2 separate regions of the Homo sapiens genome follow, and region 2 is linked to region 1. Evidence: promoter capture Hi-C in 16 types of primary human blood cells and fetal thymus (Javierre and others, 2016). All regions are on one chromosome and are shown on one strand. The core of a region is centred on a gene start or on the middle of the fragment in contact, and the rest is flanking DNA. Distances in the headings are between cores, read along the strand shown. Region 1 holds the start of SLFN12L (schlafen family member 12 like). Region 2 overlaps RFFL (ring finger and FYVE like domain containing E3 ubiquitin protein ligase).

The links. Contacts are between HindIII fragments. The CHiCAGO score rates a contact against its expected background, and 5 or more counts as called.
Region 2: a fragment that was not itself captured here is called in contact with the fragment with the promoter of SLFN12L in region 1 in 5 of 17 cell types (activated CD4 T cells, naive CD4 T cells, total CD4 T cells and 2 more); the score reaches 8.8 in activated CD4 T cells.

What each region holds. Positions count from the first base shown.
Region 1 is chr17:35,532,847-35,540,656 of GRCh38, forward strand. SLFN12L (schlafen family member 12 like) reads right to left here and starts at 4,832. Exons shown (of 5, transcript NM_001363830.2): 1 at 4,727-4,832. RefSeq lists an enhancer at 4,160-4,239. The HindIII fragment of the contact is 3,143 bases long and covers 1,988-5,130 here.
Region 2 is chr17:35,011,899-35,019,708 of GRCh38, forward strand. RFFL (ring finger and FYVE like domain containing E3 ubiquitin protein ligase) reads right to left here. Exons shown (of 7, transcript NM_001017368.2): 4 at 5,625-5,708; 5 at 4,472-4,682; 6 at 2,842-2,865; 7 at 1-251. The coding sequence ends at 70. RAD51L3-RFFL (RAD51L3-RFFL readthrough) reads right to left here. Exons shown (of 7, transcript NR_037714.1): 6 at 4,472-4,682; 7 at 1-251. Among named protein-coding and RNA genes, the nearest start is that of LIG3, 35 kb to the left of the region's middle. The HindIII fragment of the contact is 6,276 bases long and covers 1,159-7,434 here.

The DNA.
Region 1 (7,810 bases), core at 3,582-6,081:
CATTCCACTGCACTCCAGCCTGGTGAGACCCTGTCTCAAAAACAAAAACAAACCAAAAGACAAAAACAAAAAAACTTCAAAATCATATAATTATCACATTATTAAATATATATTGTTTGACACACAAAAAATGGCAGGCTACAACATTCAGTTTTATATACTTTATAAACAATATTATGGTGATCAATAATATTTTCAGCCTTATCTCTTATCATCTTAATAATATTACATTGTTTTACAATTTGTAAACATCAAATAAACAGAATTTTATATTCTGCTTTTATCACATAACACCTCTACAACCCTTTCAAGTTGTTATGCTTTTAGTTATATGTTACATTTCATCAAGAAGATGCTTAACACAATGTTGTATGTAGAAACTATTTTTAAAAGATGCATATTAATGAACTAGGTACTTCTCAATTGTTGAAATTGCTCTCAATTCATACTTAACCATAAATAATAGTCATAAATCATTTACTCAACAAATATTTATTGGAAATCTATTATTTGCCTAGCACTGTGCTAAATCCAGAAAAGACAGTGGTGAACAAAACAAACCTGGTCCCTGTTCTTGAGGAGGTTGACAGTAAACAAGTGACTCCTATGGACAAAAGTTTAGAATGTCAGGGGAGCTTAGAATGGAAACACTGCCCTCACCTGGCAGTTGGAGAGGGAATGGGTTCAGAGAAGGATTTCCAGAAAAAGTAACATTTGAGTTAAGATCTGAAGAATGCAAATGAGGTGAAGAGTTAATTTGGTGAAGAAGGGGGGGAAGAATTTTCTAGACAGAAGTAAGAAGGAGTATGTCAAGTTCAAAAGACTGACAGCACAGAGCTGGAAGGATAGAGGCAGGAGATGAGGTTGGAACCATGCTCAGGTGTCCAGCTGTGCATTGTCTGGTAAGCCACTTTAAGGGTTCCTGGCTTTACCCTAAGAGTAATGGGAAGCTGGCCAGACACCATAGCTCACGCCTGTAATCCCAGCACTTTGGGAGGCCGAGGCGGGCAGATCACCTGAGGTCAGGAGTTCGAGACCAGCCTGGCCAACATAGTGAAACCTCATCTCTACTAAAAATACAAAAATTAACCAGGCTGCACCTGTAGTCCCAGCTACTTGGGAGGCTGAGGCACGAGAATTGCTTTAACCTGGGAGGCAAAGTTTGCAGTGAGTCAAAATCATGCCACTGCACTCCAGGCTGGGCAACAGAAGGAGACTCTGTCTCAAAAGAAAGGCCTGGGCACGGTGTCTCATGCCTGTGATCCCAGCACTTTGGGAGGCCCTGGTGGGCAGATCATGAGGTCAAGAGATGGAGACCATCCTGGCTAACACGGTGAAACCCCATCTCTACTAAAAATACAAAAAATTAGCCGGGCATGGTGGCACATGCCTGCAGTCCCAGCTACTCGGGAGGCTGAGGCAGGAGAATCTCTTGAACCCGGGAAGCGGAGGTTGCAGTGAGCTGAGATCGTCCCACTGCACTCCAGCCTGGCAACAGAGCAAGACTCCGTCTCAAAAAAAACAAAAAGTAATGGGAAGCCATTGGAGGTTGTTAAGCAGGAAGACACAGCATCAGATGAACATTTTTCAAAGTCCTTTCTAGCTGAAGCAGGTTAGAGCAGTCATGGAAAAGACCTTTCAGGATATGGTTTCAGCAGCCCAAATGAGAACAGATGGTGATGTGGACTAAGGTGGGGACAGTGGAGAAGTAGGCAGAGTTGAGAGAGATTTAGAATTAAGCCGGCAGAGTTGAGAGAGATTTAGAAGTAAGCCGAGGGACCTGGCAATTGATGGGAATTCATGTCTATTATTTCAATTGCTCCTCTTCCATCTCAATCCAATGGATAAGAACCAGAATGGGCCCAGTCACTGGCGGGAGCTGTTTATGAGATACTGCTTCTCACCCCAGATTAAAAACCATAGCTTAGCCAAACATTGAAAGGGAGAAAGGATCCAAATGTGGAGAGAGAACCTGGATATATGCCAAAGCTTAAGCAGCCAAAAGCAGAAATCTCTATCAAGGCCTGGGATCAAGAGTTCTGATACAGGAAGAGCTAATCAATCAAGAGCAAATAAAAACAAAGGGCATAGTAGGAAGGTTAATGCTTGTGGTGCTCCTCATGAGCTGAAAGAGCTAACATTTATTGAGCCAGGAACTGTACCAAAAACTTTACATACATTATCTCATTGCTTTCTCACAACAAATACTATTATCTTTATTTTACCAATGAGGAAACTGAGGTTGGGGGACATATTCAGAGTCATATGGGTGAGGCTCAAATCCAGGAGTATTTGATTCCAAATGCTAGTGTTTCTAATCAAAACCTAGACTCTCTCTTTCTCCTTTTTTTTTTTTTTTTTTAGATGGAGTTTCACTCTTGTTGCCCAGGCTGGAGTGCAATGGCGTGATCTCGGCTCACCACAACCTCCACCTCCCAGGTTCAAGCAATTCTCCTGCCTCAGCCTCCCTAGTAGCTGGGATTACAGACATGTGCCACCTTGCCTAGCTAATTTTTTTTTTTTTATTTTTAGTAGTGACGGGGTTTCTCCACGTTGTTCAGGCTGGTCTTGAACTCCCGACCTCAGGTGATCCGCCCACCTCAGGCTCCCAAAGTGCTGGGATTACAGCACCGCACCCAGCCTTTTTTTTTTTTTAAAGCAACAGGGTCTTGCTCTGTCATCCAGGCTGGAGTGCAGTGGTGCAGTCATAGCTCACTGCAGCCTTCACCACCCGAACTCAAGCAGTCCTCCCACCTCAGCCTCCCAAGTAGCTGGGACTACAGGTGTACGCCACCATGCCTGGCTAGCTTTTTTTGTTTTTGTTTTTGAGATGGATTCTTGCTCTGCCGCCAAGGCTCGAAGGCAGTGGCAGGATCTCAGCTAACCGCACCCTCCACCTCCTGGGTTCAAGTGATCTTTCCACCTCAGCCTCCTGAGTAGCTGGAATGACAGGCACGCACCACCACTCCCAGGTAATTTTTGTATTTTTAGTAGAGACAGGGTTTTACCATGTTGGCCAGGCTGGTCTTGAACTCCTGACCTCAAATGATCCACCTTCCTCGGCCTCCCAAAGTGCTGGGATTACAGGCGTGAGCCACCACACCCGGCCCTGGCTAGTTTGTTTGTTTGTTTGTTTGTTTGTTTGTTTGTTTTGTAGAGATGGGGTCTTGCTATGTTATCCAGGCTGTTCTCAAACTTCTGGGCTCAAGCGATCTTCCCACCTTGGTCTCCCAAAGTGCTGGGATTACAGGCATGAGCAACCACATCCGGCCAAAAATCTAGACTCTTAATCATTGTGCAAACTGGTCTCCCAAATTATTAGGCCTCTTGGAAGACAAGAGAGTTTTCATTACTCTGGTAAGAATAACCATTCTGGAATAATCTCCCTGGTATTTGTGATAGCATTTATTTTATAAAACACATTTGATAACAAGAAAAACATAGGTCTATTTCTGTTAAACACAGGCAAGCAAAAGTCACATGTAAAAACACAGCTAGACAGAACATCTAGGGCCTTCACAAGTATCTGCTTTAATTAATGTTGGTAAACAAAAAGACCCAATGCAGTGACACATTTGCAAACATTATATCTAAATCCAACTAGATCACAGTTTCCCAGTCAATATAGCTTAAGTTTCTCTGAAAACAAAATAGTTTATATATTACGAAAAACAAAAAAACACAGTTGGGCTCAGTGGCTCATGCATGTAATCCCAGCACTTTGGGAGGCTAAGGTGGGCAGATTGCTTGAGCCCAGGAGTTTGAGACCAGTCTGAGCAAGGAAATCCAGTCTCTACAAAATATAAAAAAATTAGCTGGGTGTGGTGGTGCATGGTCTATAGTCCCAGCTCCTCGAGAGTCTGAGACGGGAGGATCACTTGAGCCTAGGGAGGTTGAGACTGCAGTGAGCCACGATTGCATCACTGCACTCCAGCCTGGGTGACAGAGTGAGAGCCTGTCTCAAAAAAAAAAAAATAAGAAAAATAAGAAACCCCTTTTCATAGTGATGAAGCAATCAGCTAACTGCTAAAGAATCTTCACAGGCGAGGCTGGGTACGGTGGCTAATGTCTATAATCCCAGCACATTGGGAGGCCAAGGTGGGACGATTACTTGAGGTCAGGAGTTTGAAACCAGCCTGGTCAATCTAGCAAGACTTCCTCTCTACAGAAACGAAAAAAATTAGCCAGGCACCCTCACGCTCAGTGCCTGTAGTCCCCGCACTTTCAAAGGCTGAAGCAGGAGGATCCTTTGAGCCCTGGAAGGTCGAAGCTGCAGTGAGTTGTGATCGCACCACTGCACGACAGCCTGGGCGAAAGAGTGAGAACCTGTCTCAAAAAAAAAAGAGAATCTTCACAGGCATCCCTTCCTCCCAAGTCTCCTCACTTGTCTTATCTGAAGGTTTGTTCCCCAGAACTATGAGAACCCTCTACATCTCTTTCTCTCAGCCCAGCCAGGTTCCTCTGGGCTTGAGTCCTACATCCCTGGCCTCAGCTACAAGGTGAGTACAGTCTAAGGACCAGCTCCTCTCATTGTCTATTTCACTTATTTATTAAAAGTGTAGACCTAAAGTGTCTACTTCATCCTCTCTTGCCTAAAGTGGGTATATCTGGAAAAGTCTGTAGCCACAGAGGAGATTTTCATCTTAGAGTTATGAGGTCTCTTTGAGAGACTCTCCATTCCATTGAATAAGCATGGCTTAGATCTCTCTGGACAATCTGTACTTACCTTGGGAGTTAAAAGATTCCACAGGGTTGAGATGCTGAAAAGATGAGAAAGTTCCAGGAGCTCTGATCTACTTAGGAGTCCCTGCAGTTTGGCTGAGGACAGTGGTAATCCTCAAAGGCTAGAAATGGCTTTCAAATCTGAGCGCTCTGCAGAACAAGTCCAGGAAAAATGCTGCTTTGGTATTTCTGAGAATGAAACTAGAAGGTTGCCGCCTTTTTAAAGTTTCCATTTCTCAGAATTCTCCTACTCATTTTAGGCCTGCCATTCTAGCCTCAAGGGGGGAATATGTGCTATTTCCTGTTTATCAATAGACTAAGTGGGCCAAAGACTAGTTCTGGCTAAAGACTAAAGAAACTTTATCAGAAGAAATGCTTCAAACACTTTGGAGAATAATGCTACAAAAAAGCTTTTTTGGATACACACCAAACTGTTATTAAGGATTACTTTCTCAGAAGTAGAACTGGAGAGGAAGAAGATGGAAAGGGAGGAGAGAATTGTTACTTTGTACAGTAGGCCTGAGTTACTCAACAAATATTTTTTATTGGCAAGGAAAAGGGAAAAAACAAAACAAAAAGAAACAGTGAAAGAGCCAGAAAGGAAATTAAACAGTGCATCTCACTGACTTTCTCATTCAATTTTTATAGTAGCCTCCATAATCCTAATAGTTGTTGTAATTAGAGCCGAGATGGATTCACTGCTATTAATTTAGCTGCTAATACTGTTGCTATTGTTCTGATCAAGTTTCTGCTACTTTTTGACCTGCTGTCTCCCTCAACAGCTGTAGGAGTCACAATTCCCTTGAGCTCTTGTTGGTTTCTTGTTCCATTTTTTTTGGGTTTCTATCCTTATACATTGAAAAAATTATTACAGTGTGGATTTAGCAATCATTTTTAGCTATAAGAAAAGGTGCTGTGCACTAGAGGGAATTGAATTAGAGATGTCATTCGTTAATCAGATAATTAGTTCCCAATCTTGGCTGCTTGTTCAAATCTTTTGGCATGCTTTTTAAAAATTCAGATGCTAAGGTCCTTCCCCAGACATTCTGAATTATACTGTCAAGTAGTGGTGCAATATCAGGAGGTAGAGACATATCACATATACACAACACACACATATAGGCATAAACATAAAGACAGACACAAATAGATCTTATAATTTTCATTTAAAATCTTAGCCATGATTAGGTATACATAAACACAAAATTTAATAATTTTGATAAAAATTGATTCTCATCTTTGCCTATTAATATTTTCTTTCGATCTCATCTTTCCATAGACATTTGTTTAGGATGACAGCTTTCTTTTAAAAAAAAATCCTTTTAGATATAAAAGTTCAAATCTTCAAAGGTATACCTGTCTTAATTGTGACTCAAAACCAGTAAGTTTTTATGGCTTAAAACCTATAAGCCTTTTATCACTTAACCATGGATGTAAGAGACATCCCCAAGGAGGATGCAAACCATGCAGCCCTTTTGCCGGGCGCGGTGGCTCACACCTATAATCTCAGTATTTTGGGAGGCTGCGGCGGGCAGATTACTTGAGGTTAGGAGTTCAAGACCAGCCTGGCTAATATGGTGAAACCCTGTCTCTACAAAAAATACAAAAATTAGCCAGGCCTGGTGGTGCATGTCAGAAATTTCAGGTACTCGCGAGACTGAGGCGGGAGAATCACTTGAGCCCGGGAGGCGGAGGTTACAGTGACCAAGATCACGCCACTGCACTCCAACGTGGGCGACAGAATGAAACCCTGTACTCAAAAAAAAAGAAAGAAAGAAAGAAAGAAAGAAAGAAAGAAAGAAAGAAAGAAAGAAAGAAAGAAAGAAAGAAAAGAAAAATGAAGGTTCAGGTGACAAACGCCTCTTATGGACTGGGACCTTTTATTAAGACAAACTTCTCTGAGAGCTGGCACAGGCGGACGAAAATGCTGCTTATCTTAGATTTTGGGTTCCAGGCTGGTGGCCTGATGCAAACCAGCAACACTTGCGCCCTCTGGCGGCGAGGACCAGAGAGACTATTTTAAAGCCAAGCTCTCGGGACATAAAACGAAGGAAGAATCGAATCTCATGATTTTCTTCCTTATGACAAACAACACAAACGACAGAGACAAGGACTTTTTATTATTCCTTGGAGGCTGTGGATCATACCCAGACCAAATTTATAAAAGTTACAATTCAAAGAACTCATTCTTACAAATGTTTTTCTCCTGCCAATCTGAATTTGGAAAGGAAGAGACAAGGAAAATTTACGTTCTCCTCTCTACAGGGCACTGCAGATAGATATGTCGGGGGACTGACTTTGGTAAGAATTCTTACCTTCTGCAGGTTCTGTCAGCTCTTCCGGGATCCTACCCACAGGCTCTGAAGTGAGTGGCGCATCCCAACCTTCTAGGGTCCCATTTTCATTGCCAGAAACCACAAGGGAGGCAAAATTTTACCTCTGTTCTCTTAGGGATTTTGGCTAGGCCTGAGAATTAACTTGACCTATGACAGATTAACAAGAGAAAAACATACAGATTTTTACATATAGGAGCCCCTATAGAAAATTCAAGACCTAAAGAAGTGCCGAAACCTAAATGCTTGTATAGTAGGGTGAGCAAAGAGTACAACTGCAGAAAAGTAATTACATTAAAGTATGTGTGAAGGCAAAGTAAGATAAGGGTTATTTTAGCAAGGTCTGTTTGTACAGAATTATCCTGGGTATGACCCCCGTCAAAGAATGTTTTTTATTCTCCTGGTACAGGGAGGGCATCTTTCACGTGGGACTTTTATCTCCTGTTTTAAGGAAGAAAAAAAGATTAAGATTCACTTTTTGCATCTGCTATTTTCTTTTTCTTTTTATTATTATTTCAACAGTTTTGGGGGGAACAGGTGGTGTTTGGTTACATGGATAAATTCTTCAGCAGTAATTTCTGAGATTTTGGTGCACCCATCACCCGAGCAGTGTACACTGCACCCAGCGTGTAGCCTTTTATCCCTCATCCTCCTCCCACCCTTCCCCCAAGTCCTCAGAGTCTATTATTTTTATGCCTTTGGGTCCTCATATGCATCTGCTATTTTCAAGTGCCTTTAGCTCCAAATAATCCTTA
Region 2 (7,810 bases), core at 3,047-5,546, 520 kb before region 1:
TGGCCAACCCTGAGCCCAGACACCCCAGGCTATTTCCCTGTAAGGCACTGAAGAAACCGATGCAAGCTCTCAGGACCGGAAGACATGCACAGCTCGGATTACATACTGCCGGCAGATGGGACATTCATTCATGCGCTTGCCACACTTGGTACAGGTTACCATGTGGCCACACTCCAGAAGAACACAGTCAATGGGTGAGTCCATGCAGATCTTACACAGGTTCTCCTCCAAGCCTGATGGTACTGCTCCCCCTGTACAAACACACAGGGCAGAAAAAAAGGGGCAGAGGAGTGAGGAGAATGTCTTAAGTGTATAGGGGTGACTGGGGGAGGGAGGTGGGAGATAACAGGTACATTGTAAACAAAGTCTCAGTGCACATGCTTCCCTCAAATAGAGCTCCTCCGAGGAAACATTTCCTCAATAACCAACTCTGGTTACTTGTTTAATCCACACTTCATCCCCTCCAACAGGTAAAGATTTGAAAAGTACACAGCACTTGTGGATCAGACACATCCCAGAACATGAGAACTAAGGCAAAGTTCTCAAAGCTTAAAAGAAATAATTTTCAGACTGTTGGGGCTGTAATATAGTGAGTGTGTGAGTGGCACGTAGGGACTCATTATCCCCTGAGGCAGAACAGGCTAAAAAGATAAAACTGGTTCAGAAAAGTTTAGATAGAAATGGAACTGTGATGAATGGTTCATTAAGGATCACAAGGCTTTATCTATAAACATATCCTCCATTTAATAAAGTCAGGGATCATGGGGGACCCCTCTGCTATCTCACAAACTACTCCCAGGTTTCCTGAGGAAACTTCCTGGTGGAGAAACTTGGCAGAGATTACTGCTCCCTCTTTCTACCCCCACAAAACTTTTTTATACCCCCATGACTGCTTATCACATTGGATTAAAATTTTGAGTTTGCCTACTTACTCCCAGAGTAGACTATGAGCTCTTTAATTCAACATATTCAATCAATTTTTACAATTATATGCTTAGCATTTATTCCATGCTCCAAGGTTAGATATTCATCTTTGAAGCCCCCAATGCCAGTTATATGGTAGGTACTCTAAATGTCTGATGAATGAACATCTTCCCAAGGGAATGACAACATCCCACATTTACTGAATGCTTACCGTGTGCCAGGCAGGGTCCTGAAAGCTTTGCATGTGTTAACTCACTGAAGCCTCACAAAAACTATAAAGTAGGACCTCTTGTTATTTTCATTTTATAGATGAGGCCAACTGGGGCAAAAAAGTTAAGTGGCTTGCCCAAGGGCACAAAGCTGCTAAGTCGAGGAGCCAGGATTCAAACCCAGGCAGGCTGGCCCCACAGCTCCTGCTCTAGAATGGCCTTCTGCCTAACTGCCCTAAGAGTAGAAACTATCCAGACAGTATCAACTGCTGAGTGCACAGGGTTCTCAATAAATGCTAACTGGCTTGTGTCACTAGCAGAATATAGTGGGCATGACCAGTATCCTAGTAGAGCTGACCCAAACAGAAAAAATAATGTTCAAAAGCCCAGCCATCTCCAATATGTCTTAAATTGTAGCCTGAAGTAGGTACCCATAAAAAGGAACTGATCTCACAGAAGTCACCTCTACCATCTGGGGGTTGGCCAACCCATAGAGGAATTCTCCCTTATTGCATCTATACTTTCTCTTTTCTGGACTATTAAAAAGTCAAGAAATACTTCCCCCTAGGAGGTAGGCTGGGTGTGAAAGGGAGTGAAACCCATTTGCCTCTTTTGAGGTGCTGTTGGTCCTAACAGAGGTTTGGAGACTATACAAATACCTAAGATGAATGGGAATAATTTATAATTTTCAGTTACTCATTCTCTCAGAAGTAACAACAAACACATTAACTCAGTTGTCAGCATTCTCCCAGGGAATCAGAAAAAGAAAGGAAGCACCAAGTAGATCAGCCTGATCTTGGTACCGGTGATGCTGGGGGGTTGGAGGGTGGAGGTGGGTCTAGAACTCCAAATGGTTTTGGGGAATTGAGAAAAGCTCAACTGTTTTTTATGTCTGATTAGAAGTAATCAGACATAAAATTGCCCATTCTGAGCAAAAGGCCATTTTACTAAATAAATTTGGGAAATCTTCTGAAATAAGTTTTAAAATGCTGCAGGCTAGTCCAACACTACTCTTAGAACGTTCTCTCTTGGAAGGGAGTTCACAACCATATACCCTTGAGGCTTTTGAAAACACATAGCATATTTTAGAATGTCCCCACAGATGGTCAGGAGTTCTGCAGTGTGTTCTGGGAGTACCTGAGGGCCCAGTGGTGGTCTTTAAGTGAGTGGCAGCTGAGCTGAGATATATAGCTTGTGCCCAGAGAGTAGCACATGTGTTAGCTCCAGAGTAGCTCTAACCATTACCAGCCCTGTACAAACAGGGCTGTCTCAGGTCACCACCCTTTCTTTTTGGTTAGTACCAGAAGCTGCTAAACACCCTGATTCCCCAGAAGGTGTACACAGAGACCCTCCCTACCCAGACCAGAACTGAAAACACCAAGATTTTAAAAAATGAGCTGAGTGTGATACATGCCACCCCTCCTCTGTTTCAGTGTTTTACAAATGTTGGCTTATGAGCTCAGGTAGCCCAGGGACATGCACATCAGTCAGTCCGCCCCTACGTATGCTCCACTCTGCTTCCTGCACAGCGAGCAGAGAGAATTTCTAAAGATGGTGAGAGGCCCCCTGGGTCTCAGTGAGTTTCCCACACACCCTCTCTCTGGGGGCTCAAATGCTCAGAATTCTTAGATTACTAAAGGGATTGGGGTTGAAGGAGGGGAAGGACAAAAGGGCCTAAGCCCATTCCCAAACAGAAACAACTACATACCGTTTTGGTCTTCGGCACCACTGACTGAAAAGGAAAGAGAAGGATGTCTGAATAGGTAAGGCATGATGGTACAAATACAGTCTCTTACTGCCCTGACATCATTTCTGAACTCTTACCACTCCCTGCTGGGAACCAGGCTTGCCAAGAGCCTAGATGGACATCTGCCCTCTACTCGCTCTACATGCTCAGAACTCACACAAAGCTCCTACTCGTGCATCTGGTCTACTTTTATTTTTTATTTTTTTGAGATGGAGCCTCACTCTCTTGCCCAGGCTGGAGTGCAGTGGCATGATCTTGGCTCACTGCAACCTCTTTCTCATGGGTTCAAGCGATTCTCCTGCCTCGGCCTCCTGAGTACCTGGGGACTACAGGCACATGCCACCACTCCCGGCTAATTTTTTGTTTTTGGTGGAGATGGTGTTTCACCATGTTGCCTATGCTGGTCTTGAACTCCTGATCTCAAGTGATCCACCTGCCTCAGCCTCCCAGAGTGCTGGGATTACAGGCATAAGCCAACACACCCAGCCTGGTCTACTCTTAGGAAAAGGTATTCCACCAGTTTGCACAAACTGCCAAGTAGAAGGATACTGTATATGTGCAATATCCTTTTCTATTTTGAAGTCAGCATTAAAGTCAAGAAAGAATGAACTATCTAGCTGTTTCAGTCAGTCAGAGAATCTGGATAAAGTTCCCACGTGGAGTCATCTGTTCTGTTCCCCAGGTCCTGACGACTGGAGAGAAGACTCTTGAAACAATCCCAAAGGGAAAACAGACTCCATGTCAGTAGGCCTCAGTCTGTAATCGGGTGAAGAGTCAGTCAGATGACCCCTAACACTGATGAATTTGAGCTACTGGTAGAAGAGAGCCTGAAACCTGACTTCAACCACTCTTACCAAGCAAGGAATCAGTATGTTGCTCTGTAGGAACCAAATCAACTGGGGATGGGAGGAAAGGAGAAGATTCTGTGGTGAAATAATTTCAGGAAATGCTAAGTTCAAAACAGCCAAAACACATTTCTCTTCTGCAGGACTTCTCTGCCTTTAATATAAAAATCTACCATAAATCAGTAATGAAGATATGAGGTATTTTTCCCTAAACTCATTTAACCACAGACCCAGATATTTTCCTGGGCATCTCCTGAATGATACAGTGTAAAATGCTCTGGGAAATGAACAAAAGGAAGAGCCCAAGTGCAGATGGAACAGCTATCTTCTCCTGCCATGTATGTAGATTCACTTTCTACCTCCCAAATCTTCAGAACAAGCATTCTTATTCTAAGGTAAGAAAACTTACAAGGTGGTGGTGAGTAGGGAGGGGATAGCATATGGTGAGAAAGGCTATGGACTTAGACCATAAAATTTTCAGTTAAATTTTACCTTTCAGATAAAGGGGTGATGCTAATAATGTCTATTTCATAGGTTGCTCTAAGGAATAAATACATACATGCAATGCCTAATCTAGTTTTGACACTCAACCACAAATGACAGCTATTATTAGACGGTGCAAATATGTAAGGTGTCTCCTTCCATGGCTTAAGTGTGGAAATTGAGTCAGGTCAATACCATCATGCTTTGGAGTGACAGCAAACACTCCTGAGCTCTGTAAAGCTACCATGCAGATAGCCCCTCACCCAGGTGCTGGAGTCCTTTCTGATCCTTGTATAGCCGGGTCACTCTCTCCATCAGCTCCCACTTCTCACAGCAGCCCTTGTAGTTGACAAAGTTGCGAGCCAAGATCTCTTTCAGCTGCCGCACTGTCAGGCCTTCAATGTCCTCCAGGTCAGTCAGGTCAGACAGAGAGGCCCTTCGGCCTGGGACAAAGCTGTCCTCTGAGTCAATAGACTGCAATGACAAAGATGAGATCAGTGTGCTCAGCTCTTACCTCCCCAAGCTCTTTCTCCAAGGACCCCAAAGCAGTCACCACATCATAATTTTGGTGACTGACCTCATGAAGGGTAGGAACAGAGACAGGATGAGTACCTGGCATGGTGCTCTGCATTGCAAAATATACTAGAATCTCTTCCTGACCCACGATTCTGTGCTCAGGAGCAAACAGACACAGACCAACCAATCAGTGTGATATAGTACTAGATAGAAGTATAGTAGAAGGAGTGCTGGTTTGAGTCATATGACCCTAATTTTGAATCTTGACTCCTCTGCTGTTAATGCTAAATAATATCCAGCAAGTTGCTTACCACTCTGAGCCCGTTTGCCCCTCCATTAAGGGGAGAGAGCAGTCCTACCCCACAGGGGTCCTGTAGAGGTTAAATATGGCCGCACATGAAACCCAGCATGGTGCTGGCCCTTCTCCCCTGGAGACTTCTGCTTGCCCACAAGAGGCACATTTCCCTGGCAAGTACTCCTCTATACACAACCTTGGCCACAGCTCCCTGGTCTGTGCTCTGGACTGGCCCTGCCTGGCTAATTGTCTGACCTCCTTCCCTTGACAATGGCTACAGTGTGCTAGAAGCAAGGAAAGAACAAGACTTTAACAGCAGGACCACAAGCCTGCCCTCCGGCAGCTCTTAGAAAGTCAAGAGACTGGAAATACAATGGGCCATGAGGCTTCTCCGTCTCCACTGTGACCTCACAACTCCTTATAAATACACTGACCGCTTCACTAGTTAACCTGGAACACTAACACTAAACCCTACCCCAAAAATATAATTTCGGAAGCACTATCATCACACATTTATTCTCTCTCCACTCGACTCTGCTAAGAGGTTCCGAAGAACACCAGTGAAAGAGGAAAGGTGAAGACACAGACCCAAGCAGAGGCCCCACCTGGGTCTCATCCTCAGCAGGTACTCTGGCCACGCTCTCCAGGTAGACGGGTTCCTCTTGATCCTGAGACACATGGCCATTGGCCTGTGGGAAGAGAAAAGTAACATCACATCTAGAGATGTCCCAGAGATCTGCATAGCATGGGCCTCTTTTCAACTCACACAATGTCCAGAATGTACTCCCATCATGCCCAGAAATCCGGAGCCTCTTACAGCATCATTACAAAAGCCTGCTCTCTCATACCAACTTTGTCAAGCAGAGAAACAACAAAAATACATTTCAATAGACAAAGCTGCCCTCTAGAACAAAACTGCATTAATTCTGCACACACCAGGATGGCAGTAGCCACAACTCATCATCAATTTAATCTCAGCTTGAGCACCACAGGTGAAGGGAAGGTCATTGTGTCCATTCCACTGCTGGACTGCTCTCTATCTGGCATCAAGGTTTTTCTTGACACTGATCCAAAATTGCCATCCCTATCCCTGGTTCTGCTCCTCAGACCATAGTCTCCTGGGGTTTTTGTTTGTTTGTTTTTTGTTTTTCCCAAACTGTTTATACCATGTTTTCCCCTCCTTCACACTAAATCTCCCTGGCTTCCTTATCTGACACTGATGGGACAAAGTTTCCAGATCATCACCACCCTAGTCTCTTTCTTTTCTGCCTAGTAACTACTCTCACATTCTGGAAATGTGCTCCCCATGTTGAGCACACTATTATTAAGTGCTATGTCCAGACCTAGTCAAAGAGTATTTTAATGTATCTAAGAATCTATTAGCCTAACACTATATAAAACACTGCCTATGCTTACGGAATTTCATTATGCTTAGAATTCTCACTTCTCAAAAGGTTCCTCCTGAGTACTCTTTTAGGAGGTTTGGCCAAAGAGTAGGCAGAACTGTTAGCCTCCTAATTCCATCACCATTTAAGCCACAAACCCCTTAAGTAGATCCTCTTCGCCCACTGCTCCCTGCAGGCAAAGGGCCTGCTGTGAGCTCAGAGCAAAGAGGTGTCTGAGCTCACAGGCCTTTTCCACCAGATTCTGGGGATGCCAGTGAAGGGACAATCTGGGAAACCAAAGACACCCACCGACCCCAGCCACTCACCCCACATTAGGATTCATAATATGGAGCTAATCAAGAAGAGGCAACCAACTGCAATGGAAATGAAAAGCAGAAGTAACAAAATGCCAAATCAAGGCAAGATCAAATGCATAGTACACATGTATGGGGATGGATCCAAATCAATGTCTTCATCAACAACGTTTTCTCTTAGCTTACTGTAGATCCTCACTGGTCTCTCAGGTAGTGTTACCTTGGAATTACCCTGGAATCCTTCAGAGCCTAACCTGTTCCTAAGTAGCTATCTTTCAGATGTCCTGTTTCCTAGAAAGAGAAACGACCTCATGCTGCAAAGCATGCTCTTGTCTTTCCAGTTTGCCCACTGGCTAAATAAAAATCCAAAACTAGTACCTGTCCACAGTTGTGCTTATTGTATATACTTCCTTGCCTAGCAACTATTGATTGCTAGGGCACTAAAGGTGAAAGAGAGAACTCTGGTTGAGCAAGTATTATAAGGAAATTTACATTCTAGGTGCAGCTCACTTATGAACTTGTCAGACAGTACTGCGTAAGTTACTTAATTCTTCCATGCCTGTTTTTCCTGCTTGCAAAGTGCAGCTCTCACCAGAACAGGGGATGTAAGCAGACACTAAGGTCTCTTGAAAATCTCAGAGGAAAAGTACCCACTTAGATCTTGTATGTAGGGTGACCTTTAGGTGCAATCTGGAAATTTCTGGTTAATGACAGGAAGCTTATCATCTTTCATTGAAAAATCTACCTGAAAAGTTTGCTTGGTTTTTTGTTTTTGTTTTCTGAGACAGGATCTCACTCTGTTGCCCAGGCTGGAGTGTGGTGGCATGATCATGGTTCACTGCAGCCTCGACCTCCCAGGCTTAAATGATCCTCCCACCTCAGCCTCTTGAGTAGCTACAGGCACCCACCACCACGCCCAGCTAATTTTTGTATTTTTTGTAGAGACAGGTTTTTGCCATGTTGCCAGGCTAGTCTCAAATGCCTGGGCTCAAATGATCCGCCTGCCTCAGCCTCCCAAAGTGCTGGGATTACCAGGCATGAACCACCACGCCCAGCCAAGGTTCTTTACAGAAAAAGAATTCCTCAAGTTCT